Linked DNA regions of Homo sapiens: region 2 is linked to region 1. The links are contacts of gene promoters, found by promoter capture Hi-C in blood cells and fetal thymus (Javierre and others, 2016). All regions are on one chromosome and are shown on one strand. The core of a region is centred on a gene start or on the middle of the fragment in contact, and the rest is flanking DNA. Distances in the headings are between cores, read along the strand shown.

What was found. The method cuts DNA at HindIII sites, captures the fragments that hold promoters and counts their contacts. A CHiCAGO score of 5 or more calls a contact.
Region 2: a contact is called between a fragment that was not itself captured here and the fragment with the promoter of METTL21C in region 1, in 9 of 17 cell types (naive CD8 T cells, total CD8 T cells, non-activated CD4 T cells and 6 more). The highest score is 7.9, in naive CD8 T cells.

Annotation. Positions count from the first base shown.
Region 1 is chr13:102,690,492-102,697,336 of GRCh38, forward strand. It overlaps METTL21C (methyltransferase 21C, AARS1 lysine), which reads right to left and starts at 4,553. Exons shown (of 4, transcript NM_001010977.3): 1 at 3,878-4,553; 2 at 322-473. The coding sequence starts at 4,007. The HindIII fragment of the contact is 1,740 bases long and covers 3,749-5,488 here.
Region 2 is chr13:102,806,283-102,812,307 of GRCh38, forward strand. It overlaps BIVM (basic, immunoglobulin-like variable motif containing), which reads left to right. Exons shown (of 11, transcript NM_017693.4): 3 at 864-1,463. The coding sequence starts at 986. BIVM-ERCC5 (BIVM-ERCC5 readthrough) reads left to right here and starts at 864. Exons shown (of 23, transcript NM_001204425.2): 1 at 864-1,463. The coding sequence starts at 986. The HindIII fragment of the contact is 1,157 bases long and covers 1,674-2,830 here.

The DNA of each region.
Region 1 (6,845 bases), core at 3,303-5,802:
CAAAATCTAAACTCTAAATCCCTGGGTTTATTCTTAACAATTTATACAAGTTTTGCATTCACTTCCTCATATAGCTGAGTTTATTTAATATAAAAATAATGTTTCGAGAAACAGAGCTTGAAGCAAAACCAGTGTTTCTGAAAGAAACACTGTTTTTGCTGATCCCAAGCACTCCACCAACACCCTCCAGGGGGCAAGCAACTGAACCTCAAATTGAGAAGCAGGATATGAAGGAACTTGACAAATTGTCCAAGGCAACTCTGAAGTACGGAATTGTTATCTCCAGAAATCCTGACATCACAAATATGACAGTTCTCTCACCCCTGGCCACACCACCGCTCCGTAACTCTCTATGGATTCCTGGATGACAATCTCCTTTCCTGCAAACCGATAATGCTCCTGAGTGTAGCTGGCGTAATCTGTAGGAACAAATTTCTGGAGGCTATGAAGAGATGGTTCTATCTTGTTGGATTCTGTGAAGCAGAAAAATAAAATGGAGTTCATGATTTGTTCAAATCCAGTGCAAAGACACACTTGGTATAATTGCTAAGATGGCATTAGATTGAATGACCTTTACATAAAGAGAAGGGATGATGCTATCAAGGAGAACGGCTGCAAATTGGCACAAAATTGAATTATATGGGGTGATGGGGACATGAAATTTGGATGTGACAGTTTTATCAGATGACAAAATGCCAAAGAATGCTCTGGGCCTTTTCTTTATTTAGGGGAGGACAGAAGATGTGTGGATCGGTCCCCACCCTAAATTTTGCTGATGGAAAAATGGCGAACTTACCAGCAAAATTGCACGAATGAGCTGTCTGGATACAGAGGAACTAGGTAAACACAAACCTGCCTTTTTTTTTTTTTCTTTTTGAGACAGAGTCTCACTCTGTTGCCCAGGCTAGAGTGCAGTGGTGTAATCTCAGCTCACCGCAACCTCTGCTTCCCGGGTTCAAGTGATTCTCCTGCCTCAGCCTCCTGAGTAACTGGGATTACAGGCGTGCGCCACCACGCCCAGCTAATTTTTGTATTTTTAGTAGACACGGGGTTTCACCATGTTGGTCAGGCTGGTCTCAAACTCCTGACCTCGTGATCCACTCGTCCTGGCCTCCCAAAGTGCTGGGATTACAGGCGTGAGCCACCACGCCCCGCCAGACCTGCCTATTTTTAGGTCTTGAAGTGAAGTAACATTCCCACGTGTTGGCTGGAGCATGTTCCTTCAATCTTTCCTACAATTGCTGTTCAAAAGGTAGAGGCCCAGCCAGCCCCACAGCCCTGGGGGAGGATGTCAGCTGAGCTCTGGCTATTAAGTTACTATTGCTTTAAATACTCCTTTAAACCCATGACCCATCTAGCAGCTCTCAGATGGCATATAAAATGAGAGGAAAAGAGCACCTGATCGGGCTGACATCAAGAGATCACAAGTGTTTGCAGGTTTTCCAGAGTGTTTAGGAATAAAAGAGCAGTGAGTCAAAGTGTGTGGAAGAAGGAGCAGGAGCAGAGGAAAAGGTGTTGGTCCCAGCGGGTGGGAAAGAATTAACAGTGCGGAGAGTAGGGGGGAGGAAGGTCAGTTTTGTTTGCACGAAACCTGCCTTTGTGGCCTGGGATATGACTGTAAAATGTTTAACCGGGGGTCAAATATGGGCTTTGGACAAAGGTAGAAGGGGGCAGCCGGTGAACATTGGAAGTGTTTTAATCTGAAATAGCCTCTCAAGGTGGAAGGCAGGAGGAGGTGAATACGAGGCAAAGGGAAGTGGGTCTTGGGAGAAACCTGGTCAGCAGGGCATCCCTCAGGTCGGGGGCAGGGCCTCCGGGTGTTTCAGGTCTCACTCATTCCATACACACTGGAACAGTTCCCTGCCACTGCTCTGCAAATGCTGATAACAGCTCCACAGTAAGTAGAGGGATTTGGAGTGAGCCTTTAGAAACAGTCACAACCATTTGACGATGCCTGTTGAATCTAACTACAAACAAAACCCGGAGCTTGTATTTTATATGTCTGTATATATTTTCATTTAATTTCTCTAGAAATTCATTTTTGTTGTATATTACAAAAGTATCAGTGTGCAGCACACTAAAAAAAAAATGTGAATGAAGTGACTCATTTGTAAATTAGCATCATGGGTGCCTTCAGTTCTTCAGAGTGTTGTTTTAGCCTGTGACTTTGATTTAGTATGTTCTACCACTTTGAAGGAGAATTCTCTGCCCTGACAAAAAAGGTGAGCTTCCAGAAACCTGGGACCTCAGTGAACTTGCAAGACGCCTCTAATAAAGGTAACCAATTCAGTCCTGAGACCTTGTCCTTTGCGGTCACCTGCCCTGGTAGGAGGCTGTAGGGAGATTGTAGGGAAAGGAGGGAGCCCTGTAGCTTTCCCCACCTCTTTTGGGAAGCCACTGACATCTAGCAGAACCCCAGCTCCCAACACAGGGCTGAGAGGCTGGCTCTGAATTCTGGTTTAGAGGCAGGAGGAAGGCCGAAAAATAGGGTGATTAATGTTTAATAACTAGTTCAGCAAGAGGGGAAGAAGCGGTGATTGACAGCGTTTGACGATTGCTCTGGAGTAAATACTCCCACCGTGCCGTTTTCAGAGAAGCAGCATGACTTCGCTGGGGAAAGACGTGCAGTACCTCGCCACTGTGTAGTGTTCCTACCGTACAGACACCACAGACACGATTAACCTCGAGAGCATAGATATTAGGAAGAGGTAATAGAATAATTGATGATGAGTTTTGAGTGTTTATCAACTTTGCTTTTAATATACCTTTGTCTTTAATATAATCTATTTAATCATAAGATTCTAACTTAAATTTAAATGATGGTTATATATAACAATCAGCTACAAAAAATGCTGAAATTCAGGTGCCAGTACAAGCCGTCGCCAGCACACCACTGGGTGGTGGCTCAGAGCATCAGGGACCTGTACCAGCCCCTGCCGGCTTCCCTGCCCTGCCCCACTCTCATCCAGGCCATGCCTGTCCCTCCTTCCAAATGTCACCATCTGGGGACTTATTTTTCTCTAGAGACTAGGAAGAGTAAGTAGGCTGATTTTGAATGGCTCATCATTTCACAGGTAAATAAACTGACAAATATTAAGCTTGACAGCTGCACTTTTCCAATCAACATTGTAAGGAAACATAGACATACACGTATTCTCTCATAAGACCCTGTGAGGTTCTACAACGATAAAGAAACATATGTTTTTGTGCCTGAAATATTTTCATTTATTCTCTGTGCTATTCTGATAGTTTTAGAGAGATCAGATTTTCAGATAAGGTAGAGTTGCATTTTTACGTAAACAATGCAGTAAAAATAGACAACATTCTCATTTATTGGAGTTGGGATACATTTTTTACCACCTTTAATTATGAACACTGTAAATGCTGCATCTTGGCTTTTATTAGATCATTTGTTATGTCTATTATTTATTTACAACTGAATCCATGCCCAGAAATGTAACCCTAAACTGTTACATTGTCCTAACGGGGAAATACAGTTTGATTTATAAAGATTCACTGTATGACAAAGCTACCAAGAATGTATTTTGGTGAAAAGCAGAAATGAACCTAGATTTTTTGTTCTTCTTTTAAGTTCTTGTTACAAAAATACAGCAAGCTTAGATCTATACATAGAAAAAAAACAAATGTGCAAACTTTGATAAGTAATGAAAAACCAGGAATTACTTTTAATAAGTAAATAATGAAAAAACAGGAATTATGTTTATACTTGCAAAACATTTTTCTGCTAAGCTTCATTATAGCAAAAAATCTAATGTTAAAAGGAAATGGAAATTCTTGTCACTGAAATTTACTTGAAGATGTCATCGCCAGGAAAACAACTGAGGAAAACTGTTGAAGTGATGAAGAAGGAGGTTACCTTCTAGGACTCCCCCGGTGCTGTCTTTCTGCGGAGCCCCCTTCTTCTCAGCCTCTAACCAGCCACCCGGGGAGCTGAGTCCTTCCCCCCGGCGCCCAGGCTGCTGCGCGGAGCTCAGACACACGTCCATAGCCGGCTGTCCCAAAGACAGCTGTGCATTGAAAAGCAATCTACAAAAGAACGACTATAATCTACTGACTGACTGTTACTAGTTCAGCACATCTATGATCTACATCGCATGTTCGTAATTAATACAGAATTGGAAATGACTCCTTGTTAGTATGCCCAAAATAATTTTGAATTGTTACACGTATCTTTACCTTATGCAGCAGAAGAGATGTGAGGCTTCTGTGCACTCTTTAATCCCCAGTGTTTTATATAGGTCTACACCTGAAAGGATTAGCATTTGATGAACAAAATCCAGCCAGTGGAAGCCCAAGTTATTTAGGGTAGCATTATCTACCAGTCCTCATAGACACATTACTTTGCTAGAATTCTCTCTCTTTCTCTCTCTCTCTCTCTCTCTCTCTCTCACACACACACACACACACACACACACACGCACAGTCCTAGCAACATTCAATGGAATTCCCTTCAAAAGTTTCAGGAATATCACTGGAACAGAACAGAGGCTGCCCCTGTGGCATCCAGTTGCTGCGATGTGGTTCGAAACGTTAGACTTCCAGTTCACTTTTCAAAGAAGTGGGTGTTGGACAGTTGCACAGACTTGCAAATTTTGTGCTCATTTGCCAAACTCCAGTAGCCACAGGGAGGACATGCCCACCCAGCCTCTGCCTAGGACCCGTATCCAGGCAGCCAGAAAGAACACAAGGATCTACCAAGAGGAAGGGAATGCTTTGGGGAGGAAGAAAGGAGAGCATCTATCCATGAGAAGGGACGGGAGTCAAAGGCTTAACGTTGAATCTGGGGGATTTAGAGCAGAGGGAAGAGGAAATCAGAAAAACTCTTCCAAGAAAAAGTAAGCCATTGTGATTTATTTAACTGAAATAAGGGATAGTCAAAAGGGAAGGAGAAAAATCATGTGCTCATTTGTGAAGCTCAGAAACCCTTAAAATAGAATATAGGTCACACAAAGTAAAGCCTCAGACAAATGGGAATTAAAGAATCACTTGTGATAGGCTACATTCAACCAGGGAGTTGGATGAATGGTGTTTTAACCTGAGTAGATATAAAAGCCCATTTTTGTTTTTGTACCCACCCTCGGTACTCGTTTCTCTGGTGTCACTATTTTGTGTTCTTTATGTCAGTTTCTTTTCACTCAGGATGTTCATCTAGATGTGCTGTGGTCCCATGTAAATCACCTTTCCCACTTTCTTAAATGACTGGGGATAAGCCGGCATTTGTTCCAGCTCTATCGTTCTAATGCTTTCTTATTCCCCAAATGCATCTAGTTCTATGATTGCATTCTGCATCTCTGCAACTTATTTCTTCCAGGTGTCATCAGTCCCTATGAGAAATAGCAAAAAGATAGTCATCAGTACAATTCTACAAAAACCTTTTAAAAACTGATTGCAATGTACGTGAATATATGTGTGTATATTTATATGCATGTAGACACACACATAGACAAACATATGCGTTCATTCTACAAGCTTTAAAATGAAGCAAAGGACGAAGGAAAAAATGTTGATCTCCTTTAATTCTACTATCTAGAGAAAGAAACCTCACCAACTTTTTTTTTTGTATCAACTTCTAGGCTTATTTTTTTTGTATAAACTTTTTTAAAGCTATTTTACTGAAAATGTGACTTGATAGAAACATGTACCTCTTTAACCTAGCATCCTATTAAGAGTTCCTTTTTAGGATGAGTTCATGTCCTTTGCAGGGACATGGATGAAGCTGGAAACCATCATTCTCAGCAAACTAACACAGGAACAGAAAACCAAACACCACATGTTCTCACTCATAAGTGGGAGTCGAACAATGAGAACACATGGACACAGGGAGGGGAACATCACACACCTGGGCCTGTCAGGGGGTGGGGGACTTAGGGGACGGAGAGCATTAGGAGAAATACCTAATGTAGATGATGGGTTGATGGGTGCAACAAACCACCATGGCACGTGTATACCTATGTAACAAACCTGCACATTCTGCATGTGTACCCCAGAAATTAAAGTATAATAAAAATAAATAAATAAATAATTTAAAAAACAGTTCCTTTTTAATACTTTCTTCAAAGCCATCTTTTAGATAGCTGCTTTAAGATATACATCAGAGCTCTATTGCCTGGAGCTAGACCACGGTAGATCAAAGGCTCTTAAATGCTGGACTTACCTGTAGGCAGAGGCTATGTCCAAATCACCCGGAAGCTTTAACATGCGTCAACTCCAGGCTCTGGCAATTCTTGTTTGCAGGTGTGAGAAGGAACCAAGAAGTCTGAATTCCCTGTCTGAGAATTGTTCTCTGACATATGGTAGCTCCTGGCACATAGTAGGTGTTGTAATTGCTGAATTTGTTATTGAGCGAAACTCTGAGTGCCCAAGCAGCCACGGGAAGACTCCAAAGGTTCAGGAAGGGATTGACGGGGGGCAGGGCAGGGAGGGAACAGGGCAGGGACACACAAGTTGTTTTCAAATAGTTGAAGTGCAGCCGGTGAAAAGGATTAGTCCTCCTGCATGGCTTCGGAGGGCACGCTGATGAAGTCAGTTACTGGGAAGCAGATTTGGGCTCAACAGGAAAGAACTTTCTAACAAGTAGAACAATGGAACAATTGATCCCAAGAAGCCTACATAATGGAAAGTGGGCCAGATTTGGAGTCAGAAGATACAAGATTGGATCAAAGGCTCAATAAGGAGGCTATTCATGTGCTGTCACTCGCCTCTCTCTGTCAGGATGGGCACTGCCTTTTTTCCTATGAAATCTGGCTCTCTTGGGCTGTGGTTCTCAAGGGGGAGTCCTCCCCTCTTGCCAAGGGGACATTCAGCAATTTGGGGGAGACATTATT
Region 2 (6,025 bases), core at 1,002-3,501, 110 kb after region 1:
TCTGTTGCCCAGGCTAGAGTGTAGTGGCGCGATCTCGGCTCACTGCAACCTCTACCTCCCAGGTTCAAGTGAGTCTTATGTCTCAGCCTCCTGAGTAGCTGGGACTACAGGCATGTGCCACCATGCCTGGCTAATTTTTGTATTTTTAGAAGGGACGGGGTTTCACCATGTTGGCCAGGCTGGTCTCGAACTCCTGACCCCAAGTGATCCACCTGCCTTGGCCTCCCAAAGTGCTGGATTACAGGTGTGAGTGACTGCGCCTGGCCTTATTGGCAATTTCTGTACTGATTTTGGAGAAGACACTATTCAGATACTTTGCCCATTTTTAAAAATTGGGCTATTTGCTGGCCGGGCATGGTGGCTCACATCTGTAATTCCAGCACTTTGGGAGGCAGAGGTGGGCAGATCACTTGAGGTCGGGATTTTGAGACCAGCCTGACCAAGATGGAGAAACCCCATCTCTACTAAAAATACAAAATTAGCCGGGCGTGGTGGCGCATGCCTGTAATCCCAGCTACTTGGGAGGCTGAGGCAGGAGAATCACTTGAACCCGGGAGGCGGAGGTTGCGGTGAGCCGAGATTGTGCCATTGCACTCCAGCCTGGGCAACAAGAGTGAAACTCCATCTCAAAAAAAAAAAAATTGGGCTATTTGCTTTTTAATTATTTTTTAATTATTTGAAAATAATTTAATGCATATTTTAGACTAATTTAAAAAATAAGATAGTGATTGTGACTCCAGTCATATAGTAGTTGTAAAATTAATATAGAATGAAGGCATATGTATGCATAAAACTTGCTATGCTTTTTAGTGGCTCTTTGTGTATCTGGTGGATTGTTGATCATTCTTTTTCCTTCCTCTTAGGAGCTCATTTTGCAGCTCTCAAGCTTTTATAGCATGCTGTAAACAATTGTCAAAGTTGTTTATCAAGAAACAGATAGAGTTGCAACTTGTTTCTAGTAATAGAAACTTTTACACTGCATTCAATGCCTAACGTTGCAGAAACAGAAAGGTCAAATGATTCTGGAAATGGTGAGCACAAATCTGAGAGAAAGTCACCTGAAGAGAATCTACAAGGTGCTGTAAAATCTTTCTGCACAAGTGCCTCAGGAGCACCCTTGGGTCCCAAAGGAGATGGTCATTATCCATGGAGTTGTCCAGTGACTCATACACGGGAAAAAATTTATGCCATCTGTTCGGACTATGCCTTTCTCAACCAGGCGACCTCAATCTATAAAACTCCAAATCCATCCCGCTCTCCTTGCCTCCCTGATAGTACCTCTTTATCTGCTGGAAATAATTCATCAAGATACATTGGTATCCCGACTAGTACATCGGAAATTATCTACAATGAAGAAAATAGCTTGGAAAACTTATCCAACAGCCTGGGCAAGCTACCTCTCGCATGGGAAATTGATAAATCTGAATTTGATGGGGTGACCACAAATTCGAAACACAAATCAGGTAAGGAGGGAGCCATGAAGTTCATATGTGAAAATAATGAGAAAACAAACACTATGTCTTGTTTAATCTTGCCATTACACATAGTTTCCTTGTATAATACTAGATAAGGAACATGGCTATCATCTTGTCTGTCAATGTAGTTTTAGGAAAGTAACCTTGACGTAGGGCATGTAGTTCATTGCGGGGCTTCCACTGGAAACTTCAAGCATAAGCTTTGTATCAAATATTTTGAGAGATTTGAAAATCTAATAATGTAAAATATTATAAACAGATGGTAGCTTAGAAAATGAAATGTTAATAACATGGCTAGAATAACTTACTACTGTTTCATAGTTTTATAGGCACATGAAGTTGTATTTCCTGACCAAACATCTTTTTTTCCTGCTATATAATGTTTTAGCTTTTTTTGTTGTTAAAATTTTTTAGGCACCCAGCAAAGCCTCCATGTACCACCAAGTGGGTTGTGTACTGCTCAATTTAAGAGGATGCTGTTTACCGAGGTTGTGCATAACTTTCACAGTTGCAATGGGGTGGTCCTATGGCAGATAGAAATACTTTACACTTCTTTCTTTTGAATTCAAAGTAATACAGGAATTTTATGAGGCAGGTACTGTTAGCCCCATTTGTAGGTGAAGAAATTGAGGCTTAGAAGGGATAAATCTCTAGACCGAAGTTGCAGAGTTAATAAGAGGAGGTCAAACTAGGATTTGTATTTACTTCTAGTCTTCTCTGATGATTTTATAAAACCTTAATGCTTCTGCTTGTTTATCTGCAAAATCAATTTGTTTCATAGAATTTTAGGTAAATTTGTAATTCTTAAGGGTAGGAGGGGGATTTTGCTTTTTTTGTCTAAATTTGTAGGTAATGAGTCTGCAATTTTCTTTTTGTCTAATGCCTTTGGCCAGTTTTGGAATTAGGGCTATGCAAATCTTCTAAGAAAAGTTGGGAAGTGTTTTTTCCTCCTGTTTTCTGAGGATTTTCAGAGAGATATTAAAATCTGTATTTATAATTATGGAGTTGTCTTGATTTCTGTTAATTTCTGACAAATTTTAATTTGTCCATGTCATTTAAGTTGTCAAATTTGGGGGCTTAAAGTTAATGTTATCCCTCTAACATCTAAGGAATCTTTGTTGACAACTCCTTTTGCATCCTAATACTGGTAATTAATTTATTTTCTCTATTTTTTTTAAAACTGATCAATCTAGCTAGGAGTTTATCAATTTTGTTAATCTTTTCAAATAACTAGCTTTTGTTAATTTTCTCAATTGTTTGTTTTCTATTTCATTGGTTTCTGCTCTTTATTATTTGCTTCCTCTGACTTACTTTGGGTTTATTTTGTTCTTCATTTTCTGACTTCTTAAGATGGAAGCTTAGATCATTGATTTTAGACTTTTCTACCATAAGCATAGAATACTCCAAATTGCTAAGTACTGCTTTAGCTGCAGCTCACAAATTTTGATATGCTTATTATTATTACTTAATTGGAAATATTTTCTAATTTCCTTTGCAATTTATTCTTTGATACATGTATTACTTAGATGTATGCTGTTTAATTTCTAGATATTAATAGTTTTTCTAAATATTGATTTCTAGTTTAGTTCCATTGTGGACAGAGGGCATATGCTCTCAGTCTTTTTAAATTTACTGAGACTTGTTTTATGACCCAACATATGGTCTATCTTGGTGAATGTGCCATGTGCACTTGAAAAGAATGTGCATTCTGCAGTCATTGGGAGTATCTATAAATATTAATTATGTCGAAGTGTTTGAAAGTGTCATTCACATCTTTTGTGTCTCCGCTTAACTTGTGTCTTGTTCTATCAATTACCAAAAGAAGGGTGTTAAAAATCTTCAACTATGATTGTGAAGTTGTCTTTTCTCCATTTAATTTCTTTTTTAAAAACTAATACATGTCTAATAACAGAAAATTTACTGTCTTAACCATTTTTACGTGTACAGTTTAGTGGCATTAAGTACATTTACGTTGTTGTGCAACCATCATCACTATTCATCTCCAAATCTCTTTCCTTTTCTTTTCTTTCTTTTTTTTTTTTTTCTGAGACAGAGTCTCGCTCTGTCGCCCAGGCTGGAGTGCAGTGGCGCGATCTCGGCTCACTGCAAGCTCCGCCTCCCGGGTTCACACCATTCTCCTGCCTCAGCCTCCCGAGTACCTGGGACTACAGGCGCCTGTCACCGTGCCCGGCTACTTTTTTGTATTTTTAGTAGGGTCGGGGTTTCACCGTGGTCTCGACCTCCTGACCTCGTGATCCGCCCGCCTCGGCCTCCCAAAGTGCTGGGATTACAGGCGTGAGCCACCCCGCCCAGCCCTTCTTTTCATCTTACAAAATAAACTTTGTACCCATTAAACAATAAATCCTCATTCCTTCTCCTCACAGTCCCTGGAAACCACAATTTTACTTTTTGTCACTGTGAATTTGACTATTCTAGGTACCTTATGTAAGTGAAATCATATAGTATTTGTCTTTTTATGACTGGTTTATTTATAGCCACCCCTGCTCTCTTCTGGGTGCTATTTGCTTTGGAATACTTATTTCCATCCTTTTACTTTCAGCCTATTTGTATCTCTAGATCTAAAGTGAGTGTTTCAGAGACAGCATATAGTTAGCTAATTTTTTCTGTTTCTGTTTTTGTGTGTGAACCCACGTATACAAAAACATATTTTTAAAAAAATGCATTCTGCCAGTCTCTATGTTTTGAGTGGAGAATTTAATCCATTTACATTTGAAGTAATCACTGATAAGGAGAGACTTGTCATTTTAGTACTTGTTATTTATATGTAAACACTCTGTTCCTATACTGCTTCGTCCACACTTAACTTTCAGTTATTGATGTTATCAAATTACAAATTTATATATTGTGTGTCTGAAAACATAAACTAATAATTTTTATGTATTAATCTCTTAAATAATGTGGAAAACAAAATGTGGAGTTACAAACCAAAGTTATTATAATAATAGCTTTTTTATTTTTATTTTTTATTTTGAAATAGGGTCTTGCTCTCTTGCCCAGGCTGGAGTGCAGTGGCACGACCATGGCTTACTGCAGCCTTGACCTCAGGCTTAAGCAATCCTCCCACTTCAGCCTTCTGAGTAGCTGGGACTACAGGTGCACATCACCACGACTGGCTAATTTTTAATATTTTTTTGTAGAGATAGAGTCTCACTATGTTGCCAGGGGTGGTCTTGAACTCCTGGGCTCAAGCAATCCTCCTGCCTCGGCCTTCCAAAGTGCTGGGAATACAGGCATGAGCCACTGCTCCTGGCCTACTACTAGCTTTTAAGCTAATAATAATTTCTCAAAAATGTATTAGTCTCATAAATCATATAGAATACAAAAACTGGAGTTGCAAACTAACAAAATAACACTGGCTTTTATAATTGTTCGTGTATTACCTTCACTGAGGTAAATTTATTTCTTCCTATGGCTTTGAGGTACTAGCTAATGTCCTTTCATTTCAACCAGCAGGAATCCTTTTAGCATTCCTTACAGGGCAAGTCTAGTGGTAATAAACTCCTTCAGTTTTTGTTTGTCTGGGAATGTCTGAGTTTCTTCTTCACTTTTGAAGGACAGTTTTGCTGGATTTAGAATTCTTGTTTGAATTTTTTTTTTATTTCAGCACTTTGAATATATCAGCCCACTTCCTTCTGGCTTCCAAAGTTTCTGATGAGAAATCTGTTGATATTCTTATTAACAGTCCATTGTATGTGATGAGTTGCTTCTCTTGTGTTGCTTTTAAGAGTCTTTGTCTTTTTGCAATTTTTAAATTTTTTATTTGATACGGAGTTTTGTTCTTGTTGCCCAGGTTGGAGTGCAATGGCACGATCTTGGCTCACCACAACCTCCACCTTCTGGGTTCAAGCAATTCTCCTGCCTCAGCCTCCCAAGTAGCTGGGATTACAGGCGTGCGCCACCATGCCTGGCTAATTTTGTATTTTTAGTAGAGACGGAGTTTCTCCATGTTGGTCAGGCTGGTCTTGAACTCCTGACCTCAGGTCATCCGCCTGCCTCAGCCTCCCAAAGTGCTGGGATTACAGGCGTGAGCCACCGTGCCCAGCCTTGCAATTTTATTATAACATATATTGGTGTGGGTCTTTCTAAGTTCATCCTATTTGGAATTTGTTGAGTTTCTTGGATGTTTATATTCATGTTTTTTAAATCAAATTTGGAAAGTTTTTAGGCATTATTTGTTTGGATAATCTCCTACCCCTTTTTCAGTGTCTTCTCCTTCTGGAACTTCTGCAATGTATAGGTTGGTCCACTCGATGGTGTCCCCAGGTCCCTTAAGGTCTGTTTACTTTTCTTCAGACCTTTTTTTTTCTGTTCCTCATACTCAATTATTTCAGTTTTCCCATCTTCAAGGTCACTAATTTTTCTGCCTGCTCAAAACTGCCTTTGAATCACTCTAGTGAGTTTTTCATTTCAGTTATTATATTTTTCAGCCCAAGAATTTATTTTTGGTTTTAAGTTTTCTATCTCTTCATTGATATTTCCATGTTCTTCATACATACATCTTTCGTTAGTTCTTTTGGCATCTTTAAGAT